Regions from separate parts of the Homo sapiens genome. Here region 1 is linked to region 2. The links are contacts of gene promoters, found by promoter capture Hi-C in blood cells and fetal thymus (Javierre and others, 2016). All regions are on one chromosome and are shown on one strand. Each heading gives the region's core, a stretch centred on a gene start or on the middle of the fragment in contact. The rest is flanking DNA. Distances are from core to core; before and after follow the strand shown.

Evidence for each region. Contacts are between HindIII fragments. The CHiCAGO score rates a contact against its expected background, and 5 or more counts as called.
Region 1: a fragment that was not itself captured here is called in contact with the fragment with the promoter of RPL23A in region 2 in 1 of 17 cell types (activated CD4 T cells); the score reaches 8.0 in activated CD4 T cells.

Annotation. Positions count from the first base shown.
Region 1 is chr17:8,117,244-8,123,822 of GRCh38, reverse strand. It overlaps HES7 (hes family bHLH transcription factor 7), which reads left to right. Exons shown (of 4, transcript NM_001165967.2): 2 at 697-792; 3 at 1,393-1,480; 4 at 1,786-3,231. The coding sequence ends at 2,252. TRL-TAG1-1 (tRNA-Leu (anticodon TAG) 1-1) reads left to right here and starts at 3,428; the gene lies at 3,428-3,509. It overlaps TRR-TCT2-1 (tRNA-Arg (anticodon TCT) 2-1), which reads right to left and starts at 2,898; the gene lies at 2,811-2,898. ALOXE3 (arachidonate epidermal lipoxygenase 3) reads left to right here and starts at 5,309. Exons shown (of 16, transcript NM_021628.3): 1 at 5,309-5,337; 2 at 5,520-5,979. The coding sequence starts at 5,833. It also overlaps TRK-TTT3-5 and TRQ-CTG1-5. RefSeq lists silencers at 1,643-1,752, 1,973-2,432, 3,373-3,582, 3,953-4,042, 4,173-4,222 and enhancers at 4,743-4,842, 4,993-5,062, 5,143-5,222, 4,944-6,143. The HindIII fragment of the contact is 3,122 bases long and covers 875-3,996 here.
Region 2 is chr17:28,718,706-28,722,806 of GRCh38, reverse strand. RPL23A (ribosomal protein L23a) reads right to left here and starts at 2,822. Exons shown (of 5, transcript NM_000984.6): 1 at 2,777-2,822; 2 at 1,917-2,100; 3 at 1-84. The coding sequence starts at 2,801. It overlaps SNORD42B (small nucleolar RNA, C/D box 42B), which reads right to left and starts at 2,257; the gene lies at 2,191-2,257. SNORD4A (small nucleolar RNA, C/D box 4A) reads right to left here and starts at 225; the gene lies at 154-225. RefSeq lists enhancers at 2,108-2,267, 2,608-2,827, 3,258-3,307, 2,964-3,565, 3,566-4,101. The HindIII fragment of the contact is 1,784 bases long and covers 1,214-2,997 here.

The sequences.
Region 1 (6,579 bases), core at 1,186-3,685, about 21 Mb after region 2:
GCCTCGGTAATGGGTGTCGGCACCTTGTGGCCTGGGGAGGGGGCCGGTGTTGGAGTAAAATAAGCAATTAGAGGGCAGAGCCAAGGGAGGAGGGTGGGAACGAAAAGAGAAGAGGATAGGCACTTGCTCCACTCTGGCTGTGAGCCGGGCGGGGCTGGCCCAAGGCGGTCTTGTACAGAAGGTCCCGGGGCGTTGGTTCCAGAGGCCCCAGACTGGTGGAAGATTTTAGGAGAACCGTGGAGAAGGTGAAGGCCTGGAGGGTTTTGAGGGAAAAGAGGCGGCGCGGTCGCGCTAGGTATCTCCCTTTCTATACTCAGGGCCGCCAGGTCTGAGCCCGGCACCGTGCGGCGCACGTGCGTGCGCGCAGAGAGTCCCCAAAGTTCTCCACTGAGACAAAGAGAAACTGCACCAGACGGAGACGTAGAGAGAAAAGAGGAGGAGAGACACAGAGAGGGGAGGAGGGAGGACGAGACTGAGAGAGGAGAATGCGAAGATCCGGGGAGGCGAGCTACAGAAACTGATCTAGGGGCATTGGGAGGGGGAGCGGAGAGGGATCGAATGGGGCCGGCCCTAGGCAATCTGGGGTCTTGTGGCCGGGGTGGAAGCCGGGCTCTCCCAGCGGCGGGATCCGACGCCGGGGCGGCCGCACTGAGTCTCGGTCTGGTCGGCCCGCTCTCCTTTTCTCGCTGGTCGCAGATGCTCAAGCCGCTTGTGGAGAAGCGGCGCCGGGACCGCATCAACCGCAGCCTGGAAGAGCTGAGGCTGCTGCTGCTGGAGCGGACCCGGGACCAGGTCAGTCCCTCCGCTAGCCCTAGGTCCCCAAGCTTCCCGTTTCCGCGTCCCAGGGCTTCCCACTGGGGTGGGGACACAAGCTTGGTTGGCAACCCTGGCCCCAAGGCATCCTCACCCGAGTCCCGCCTTTGGAATTCCATCCCAGACCCCCACTCGCTCTCAGAACGCGATCTTCTTCGCCACCCCTCGGGTCTGTAAGTTTCACGCCTGGTTCTGTAAATTTCGCTCCCGGGGTCGGTCAGTTTCACCCTTTGGGTCTCTAAGTGTCCGGTTCCCCCTCCCCCACAGCCAGCCTCTGATGAGCCAGCCTCTGTTATGTCGGGTGGTTAATTTCATTCCCTGGGTTGCGGTTTCAAATCTCCTCCTCACGCGTTGGGCATTGGTTCCAACCCCTAGGATTGGACAGTTTCGTCTCAGGGTGGGCCAGGACTTTCCTTGGTCATCTCCACTCCGCATTTGGTCGCGCGTTCTGTGGGCAGTGCGCAAATGCGATCGGGGGCACCACCAGCTCCCGCATCCGTCCCTCCCTTCTTCCCCCTGCCACTTTCCCCCTTTCTCCCCACCCCTTTCTGTCTCTGCGCCCTCCCCTCCCGTCTGTAGAACCTCCGGAACCCGAAGCTGGAGAAAGCGGAGATATTGGAGTTCGCCGTGGGCTACTTGAGGGAGCGAAGCCGGGTGGAGCCCCCGGGTACAGCGCGGGGGTGGGGCAGCGGAGGGAGGGAGGGGGGACGCCAGGAGGCTCCGGCCGGGGCAGAGTGGGCGGGCCCTGCGGTGGATGGTGGGCTTGGGGAGTGGCCGGTTCTGCTCCGAGGCGAGGTTAATAACACCCGCGCGTGTCTGTCTCTGTGTCTCCCTCATTTTCTCCCTCTTTCCGTCCATCTGGCTTCCTGTCTCTGTGCGCCTGTCCGGCCTTGGTATCTCTGCGCCCCGCCCCTTCCCTCACCCCTGCCGGGCCCCTGCCCTGCCCACCTGTGCTCCCGCCGGCCGCACCAGCCGCCGCGGCTCCAGGGGTTCCCCGGTCCCCAGTCCAGGACGCCGAGGCGCTCGCCAGCTGCTACTTGTCCGGTTTCCGCGAGTGCCTGCTTCGCTTGGCGGCCTTCGCGCACGACGCCAGCCCGGCCGCCCGCGCCCAGCTCTTCTCCGCGCTGCACGGCTATCTGCGCCCCAAACCGCCCCGGCCCAAGCCGGTAGATCCGAGGCCTCCAGCGCCGCGCCCATCCCTGGACCCCGCCGCACCGGCCCTTGGCCCTGCGCTGCACCAGCGCCCCCCAGTGCACCAGGGCCACCCTAGCCCGCGCTGCGCATGGTCCCCATCCCTCTGCTCCCCGCGCGCCGGGGATTCTGGCGCGCCGGCGCCCCTCACCGGACTGCTGCCGCCGCCACCGCCGCCTCACAGACAAGACGGGGCGCCCAAGGCCCCGCTGCCCCCGCCGCCCGCTTTCTGGAGACCTTGGCCCTGAGCCTTGGGGGGTGGTGGGGGCGGGGTCTAGGGGTGGGGTAGAGACTCCAGCCCGAGGGCAGCAGAGGGACCCGGGCGTCCGGGCGAGCAGGTGTTGGGGAGGGCAGTGGGGCGCGCGGGCTCAGCGCGCGGGTGAGATGTGGTCTATATTAGAGTATCTATATAAATATATATTTCCCTGGTTCCTGTCCCTTTTCCCTGCCCCAACTTCTCCCTTGCGTCTAGGATTGTACTCTCTCTGCCCCTCAGCCCAGTCCCAGTCCCTTCCCGAGTCCCTAGTGCATGGAATAAAGTGGTTATTAAATCCCCGTGTGTCCCCGAGCCAGGGGCCTGCCTTTATCTCGACGTCCACGCCCACTTTCCCTTCCCTTCTGTCTCCCACCCTCAGTCCTGCTCTCCATGGCCCAAGCCCCGGGGCAGACAGGTAAGTAAAGAAGAGAGCAGAGCGGGAACTGAGATCGAAATTGAAACCAGGTGGAAAGAGAGAGATAGGGTAGGGGGAGAAGGGATGGGGGCCTTTAAGAAAAAAACGGATAAAAAGGAAAAATTGAAATAAAATCGACTCTGGTGGGATTCGAACCCACAACCTTTGAATTGCTCTATTCGTCACTAGAAGTCCAATGCGCTATCCATTGCGCCACAGAGCCACCCGACGAACGGCGGCGTCTTGTAGCTTACGGGTACTAGAGTGGGAATGGGGCAGGGTTGGGGAGCGGGGCTAAGGGACTTGGGCGGGACATGCCAGGAGGGCGCGGTTTGGATCTCAGAGGCCAAGCCAGGTAGAGGTAGCGGGCGCAAAGCATGTTAGCCAGGTGAGAGAGAGGGCGCACATGGGTCGAAAAAACAGGGAGGGAGAGCAACCGAAAATGGCTGAGCGAGCGAGTGCAGAGCTCCGGCTGCCCGCTTGGGGGGTGTTTCCGGCTCAGGCGCTCCCCACTCCCAGATATAGTCCCACCCAAATAAACTAGTTTTGTTGTAAATTTCTGTGTGTTTTTGTCTCTTCTCGTTTATCTGTTCTGCCATCTGCTGCTATGCGGTCCACAGTCTCGATGGTTCTTCATTTCCAGTCTAAAAGATGTGGAAAAGGAGACGAATCAATTTGGCACTCTTAAGATTTGCCCCATTCCTTACTTCTAGTCTCTTAGGAGGACAACGGGGACAGTAAGTTTTCGTGCAGGTAGCGTGGCCGAGCGGTCTAAGGCGCTGGATTTAGGCTCCAGTCTCTTCGGAGGCGTGGGTTCGAATCCCACCGCTGCCAGGCTGGAGTTTTTCTGGTGGATTACGCACCTGCTACAGTTCTGTTAACAGTTCTGTGAGGTTACACCTATTTACATGCAGAAAGTAATTTTACGAATTCCCCTGGTAATGGTTTCACCATCATCTTCCGTGTTTGGTCTTCCAGAGAGATCATAGGCCTGCATCCATCCCAGAAGCTAAGACCTGATGGTAACTGCTGAAGCAATATTTCGTTTCTTCATAACATCTCTATTATTTCGTTTCTTCATAACATCTCTATTTTAACATGTTTTCAAATGTTAGCTCAACTTCCAACATATTTAAATAATTTATTGTACGTTCTCTTAACACTGTGTTATAGGACTCAATTATCCGGTAGGAAAAGCACAAATAATTGGTAGTGTCCTAGTTTACTTTTTTTTTTTGTCGTATTATCTTGGGTCATAGGAGTATCCCCTCTGTGAAAATCAATTAACAATATTCAACATGCTGATATTAAAAGAAAAGCTTCAAGGTTCCACCGAGATTTGAACTCGGATCGCTGGATTCAGAGTCCAGAGTGCTAACCATTACACCATGGAACCTCCCTCGTGGTGTCTTTCAAGATTGTGTACATTACTGGACATTCTATTTTGCGTGTCTTCCACACCCGTCACTTAAAACGAAAACAAAACAAAGTCTGCTGTTGGATATGGTAGACACCGTTATCGAGCACTTGAAATATATGAATTCAGATGTATTGCCAGCTTCTAAATACACATCTTCTTTTGAAGGAAGGCTTTGTACAAACAAAAAGACTTAAAATTTCATTAATATTTTTAGAATGTTGATTATATGTTAAAATAAGATTTTGGTATATTAGGGTAAGTAAAATAGATCCGTGAAATTAATTTCGCTTGCTTTTTATTCTTTGTAATGTGGCTACCAGAAAATGTAAATTCGATAATACGGCTCGCGTTTGTACTGTTTTAAAGTATGTTTATTACCCTCCACCGTCGTTTGCTGTATTTTGTGGAAATCAAGTTTCTGTATCACCTAGCTTTAAAAACTAGTAACTATTTTTGTTACCATTTTATGCGAAGTGCGGTACCCAAAAGCAAAGACATGCCGCCCGAACAGGGACTTGAACCCTGGACCCTCAGATTAAAAGTCTGATGCTCTACCGACTGAGCTATCCGGGCTCTTCACGAGAGCTTTACTTTTTGCTTATAAGAGGGTTCTCTATAGGAAAAGCCAGGCTTGTAGAACCGACAGAGGATTTTATCTGTGCAGCATAGAATATTTTGGCACAGATTTGGAAGCAGCGGGTGAAGCTCGCCTGCTGCTGATTGAGCTTTTTCTGCCTCCCGTTCTTAGAGCCCCCGCCGAGGCTGCGACGCAGGGACTGTACCATAGTAGAGGCTGGAACAGTGCGGCGCCGGAACCGGCCGCGCGGGGCCGCTGCGGGCTATGGGCTTCTCTGAGAGGTTCCTCCCCAGTCCCTAGTGGCCCAGATCCCGGACACCTGGGCTCCCGCCCAGGATCCTGCAGGCCCAGGGCGGTCCTGGAGCGGAAAGAATGCCACGCGGGGCATTCAGACCCTGTTTGCCGGCGCTGTATTTCGCTTTCCTGACCTGCCCTACTCCAGAGCAGAGAATGAGGTCGGGCGTGCCAAAGGCTGGGGACAAAGAGGGCCATGCGTGGGGGGATCGGTGTATGGGGTGACAGGGAGCTGTTCCTGACCATTTGACATGTGCTGGAATGCGTGTGCGACTCACCTGCGTGTGGCTGCAGTCACGTGTGATTTATGACCAAGTGCAACTCTCCACTGTTTAGTGATTCACACGGATGATTCACACGTAGGAATGCAGGTGCCCTGTGCTCATCTCTGCCTGGGAATGGGGAGGAACAGATCTTGGGGGACATTGGGGAGTGGGCGGACAAGCACTCCAGGGCATCAGTCCGGGCCGCTGACCAGGCGGAGGGCAGTGTCCCAATTATACAGGCGTTACCTCCTTTTCTCCATCTCAGCATCTGATCCCTCCCTCCGCAGTGGAACCCAGGCTCCTGATATCCATCTGGGTGAGCCAGCCAGAGGGACCGGCTGTGTCAGAGGCAAGCAAACAAGTATTAGAGTGCAAGACTGTGGGCGGAGAGAGGAAGCCCGAGCCGCCAGCAGGGAGCTTCGGAGAGAGAAAGCCCAGGAACATCCCAGAGAGAGCTGGGCCCATCCTCAGCCCTACCCAGCCCCGCAGCCCCTAGCCCTCCGCCCAGAAACCCAGCCCTGTCCGGCGTGCCGCTCTTCTCCTCCAGGCCGGCTGCTGCTGCGGCCAGCGTTGCCGGGGCATCCCTTCCTCCTTCCCATCATGGCAGTGTACCGCCTGTGTGTGACCACTGGTCCCTACCTGAGGGCCGGCACACTGGACAACATCTCTGTCACACTGGTGGGCACGTGTGGTGAAAGCCCCAAGCAGCGGCTAGATCGAATGGGCAGGGACTTCGCCCCTGGATCGGTGAGTACAAAGGAGACAGGGAAGCGCGACCTCAGAGGGGCAGGGGCCGCAGGCGGGAGGAGTATTCCTCCTGGACTCTTGAGATCCTGCTGAACTCAGGATACCGGCCCTGACCTCCTCACCTTCCCTATTGAGGTCCCTGTCTTTCCTGGAGATGATGAACTCCATCCAGGCAGGACTGTGGAGAGGAAGGAGCGTTGGACAGGGAGTAGAGGGACTTCCCCTGGCTCCTAAACTCCTCCCATAATTGACCGTGGGCTTTGGGCAAGTCGCTTCCCCTCTCTGAGCCTGGGTTTCCTCTTATCGAGGGGATCTGCCTGCCTCTGCCAGCCCCAGGTGGCCTCCACAAGAGTTCCCAGCCGGCCTAGGAAGCTAGTGAAATGCAGTGCCCACTGTGCTCGGGCACCTTTTTCTTTTCTTTTTGAGATGGAGTTTTGCTCTTGTTGCCCAGGCTGGAGGGCAGTGGTGTGATCTCAGGTCACTGCAACCTCCACCTCCCGGGTTTAAGCGATTCTCCTGCCTCAGCCTCCCAAGTAGCTGGGATTACAGGCGCCTGCCACGACGCCCGACTAATTTTTTGTATTTTTAGTAGAGAAGCGG
Region 2 (4,101 bases), core at 1,573-4,072:
AACACAAGTGTGTTGTTGTCTTCTATCTTCTTCATGGCAGACTCAGTGGTCAGCGGAAACTTGATGATAGCATAGTGGTCAAGCCTGGGAGAGGCAAAATGGGGTCACCTGGCCTGGGCCCATTCTTTTGGAGCCCAGAGCCAGGAGAGCCTAGGTGCATCAGACAACGAGGTACCAATCACTTTGTTCAGACTTTGGTCGCTTTACAGTGTCATCATCTGCACCCTGAAATCTAAGGGCCTGAAGCCCCAATCCCAGGGGCAGAACGTTGTGCATTTTCTTTCTCTTGAAGGGCTCTTACAACCTCAAGTGATTAAAGAATCATCTCTGGGCCAGGTGTGCTGGCTCATGGCTGTATTCCCAGCACTTTGGGAGGCTGAGGCAGGCTGATCACGAGGTCAAGAGATCGTGACCATCCTGGCCAACATGGTGAAACTCCCTCTCAACTAAAAATACAAAAATTAGCTGGTCATGGTGGTGCACGCCTGTAGTCCGAGCTACTCAAGAGGCTGAGGCAGGAGAATCGGGCCAGGGGCAAATTCCTTTTTTTTTTTTTTTTTTGAGACAGAGTCTCGCTTCGCCCAGGCTGGAGTGCAGTGACAGGATCTCGGCTCGCTGCAAGCTCCGCCTCCTGGGTTCACACCATTCTCCTGCTTCAGCCTGGGACTCAGTAGTGGGACTAGCGGCGCCTGCCACCACGCCCGGCTAATTTTTTTTGTATTTTTAGTAGAGACGGGGTTTCACCGTGTTAGCCACGATGGTCTCAATCTCCTGACCTCGTGATCCGCCCGCCTCAGCCTCCCAAAGTGCTGGGATTACAGGCTCGAGCCACCGCGCCCGGCCAGCCACGAGCAAATTCTTATGCATAGGTGAGGTTAAGCCACAGCAGTGGCTTAAGCACAACTGTAACACAGCTTTCCCCATTTAAAGTCACACTTGATTCTAGGTCCAGCTTGGTGGCGGGAGGGGCAGGAAGACAGTCTGTGAACTGCTTTCCTATATGAACACAATCCACTTTTTCTGTTAAGAAAGAGTAGAAGCAGCAAAAACCCATTGGTACTAACTACTACCATGGCTCTACTCAAATCTGTGCTCCCTAAAAAGTCAGTTATTACCGATAGCTCAAATACTCAAGTGCCCAACCTTCTGCCCATTCCCCCCCAACTGTTCCTTGAGCAGTATGAAAATTCGGGAAAATGAATGGAAAGAAGCTTCTATACACCGCAGCAGGCCATAACTGCCAAATACAGATAATGGAATCCCCACTATCAATCAAGAATCAATCCACGTTCTCACCCTCAAGGATTGTTCCCGATAGCAGTAGGAGCTATGAGCAAGGAATCTCTGTATTCTACTTTATACTCCCCCCAAAATAAGTTTTCAAACCGTGACCACATGTGAAGCAATAATTAACCTAACAAATTTTGAGAGACTCAGGGTTTTTTTTTTTTTGAGACAGAGTTTCACTCTTATTGCCCAGGCTGGAATGCAATGGTACGATCTCCGCTCACCGCAACCTCCACCTCCCGGGTTCAAGCGATTCTCCTGCCTCAGCCTCCCGCGAGTAGCTGGGATTACAGACATGCGCCACCATGCCCGGCGAATTTTCTATTTTTAATAGACGCGGGGTTTCTCCATGTCACTCAGGCTGGTCTCGAACCCCTGACCTCAAGTGATCCGCCCCCCCTCGGCCTCCCAAAGTGCTGGGATTACAGACGTGAGCCACCGCGCCCGGCCTCTGGGCTGATCCTGCCAGTTTTGTAAATGCAGCAGAAACAATCTCCTCATACTTCCAATTAGAGAAGCACACTGGACACAATTTGCGTTTGAGAAACCATCACGCAGAGTGAGTGAATTTCCAAATTACCAATGGAGAATACCCAAATCTTTTCATGGGTACAGGGGGCAGTACTGACTTGTTTCTCCTGGGAGCGCTCTTCCGAGGATATTTGGGCTGTCTCCGGAGTCGCAGTGTCTTCGGCCGCCGGAAGGTGGGTGACGTGCGGATCTTCTTCTTTTTGTGGCTGTGGACACCTTTCAACACTGCCTTCTTGGCCTTTAAAGCCTTCGCTTTGGCTTCAGCTTTAGGAGGGGCAGGAGCTGGGAGAAAAGGAAAGAAAACGTGGGTGCGGGATTTAGAAATCGGTCACTTCCGGCCCCAAGAACTGCAGTGGGCCACCCTGGCCACAGGTGCATCAGTGGTTCCTTTGAAGACATCACAAGTGTCAGGAGATTAAAACTTTTCCATCATATGCACGATACCAGAGGCGAAAGCGACCAACTCTAAGTAACTCCAGGGATACGACTATGAAACAAAGTAGCACTGAATGAACGCTTGATACTTTCCAGAAAATGTCCTACGAATTTTACACATACCCCATCGCAAAACCACGCTGCGGAGAGAGGGGCGGGTAATGTAGCCCGGTTGAACATGAACCAGAAGGAAAATGGTTAAAGCTGAGGGCACTAATTCCTTACAGGCCCGGGGACATGGAGCTCCAACCAGTGGATGCATGTAGCTTCCCAGAACCGAATGTCTGGCCCTCCCTGGCGGATGATGCCTGCCGCGTTGCCCCCCCCCAACTCCCTCTACCGGAACTCAGCCCACGAGGCTGGGCCCACGCGGCCCACGTATACTGCAGCGTGTCCGAAACGCAGGGAGCAGCCCCGGAGCAGAGCCCTCAGGGCTTAGCCCAGCAGCCGTGTTCCCAATTCGTTCGCTCTGCGGCGCGGCAATCCCCGGTAAACCAGCTGCGGCCCCATCACCAACACACACCTTCCTTCTTCGCTTTCGGCGCCATCTTGTGAAAAGGGTCTCCAATGCTCGTTCCCACGGGCTTATAGCGCCAAAGAGCACTAAAGACTCGCGATGCTTTGTACTTAGAGCTGATTGGGTAATTTGCAGAGCGGCGCCCTCTGGGAACGGTAGTTAGGTTTAATTTCTTTTTCGTGCGTGAACAAACATGCGCCACTCCTCCCCTCAAAGGCACTAAAGCTTCATGGGGGTTGTAGTTTTTTGTTTTTTGTTTTTTGTTTTTTTTTTGAGCGCTCTGTCGCCCAGGCTGGAGTGCAGTGGCGCGATCTCGGCTCACTGTAAGCTCCGCCTCCCGGGTTTACGCCATTCTCCTGCCTCAGCCACCAGAGTAGCTGGGACTACAGGCGCGTGCCACCATGGGGATTGTAGTTTTTTGAAGACACGCGTTTATTTGCTCAGGCCAGCGGACGGCGTAGCCGGCTGGCGCTCGGGTCTGGTCCCGGGAGCTTCCTATCTTGAGCAACTGCCAGTCTCAGGGAAGAGGATTGCCATGCCAGGAGGCAGGAACGCTGCCAAGAGGAAAGAACACATTTGGATTGACTCGGGAGTTAGATACAGCTAAGTTCTAGAGTGCTGGAGCAGGATTTGCTCGGTCGAACTGAGGTCCAGAGAGGAATGTGGTTTATCAATAACACAGTGATTTGGTGGCAGAAAAAAATCAAGTCAGGGCCGGGCGCGGTGACTCACGCCTGTAATCCCAGCACTTTGTGAGGCCGAGGTGGACGAATTGCTTCGAGCCCAGGAGTTCGAGACCACCCTGGGCAACACGGCGAAACCCTGTCTCTACAAAAGAATACAAAAATTAGCCGGGCGTGGTGGTGCGTGCCTGTAGTCCCAGTTCCTTGGGAGGCTGAGGTGGGAGGATCGCTTCAGCCCTGGAGGTCGAGGCTGCAATGAGCCATTCCAGCCTGGGTGGCAGAGTGAGACCCTGTCTCAAAATAAATAAATAAATAAATAAATAAATAATCGAGTCACGAGGGGGAAGTGTCAGAGGAAGTACAAGGCGGCCACACCTGCCCCTCTTTACCTGCGACACTGATACTGTCAAGTTTTACTGCGTTTCCTGATAATGCATTTGAAGTTCTATGAAAATTCCACACATTTCTCCAAGATTCGCTAGTTTTTCCGGTTAGTAACTTCACTCACAATCCCCTGCCCTAAACTAGTCTTCCCTTCCGTGTCCTGGTCATCTTTACATCCTCAAATTCAGCTCCAGACACAGAGAAAGGTTTCTTAACACTCAGGTTCGCTTCTCCTAAGGTGTGTGCCTAACCCATCCCCACTTG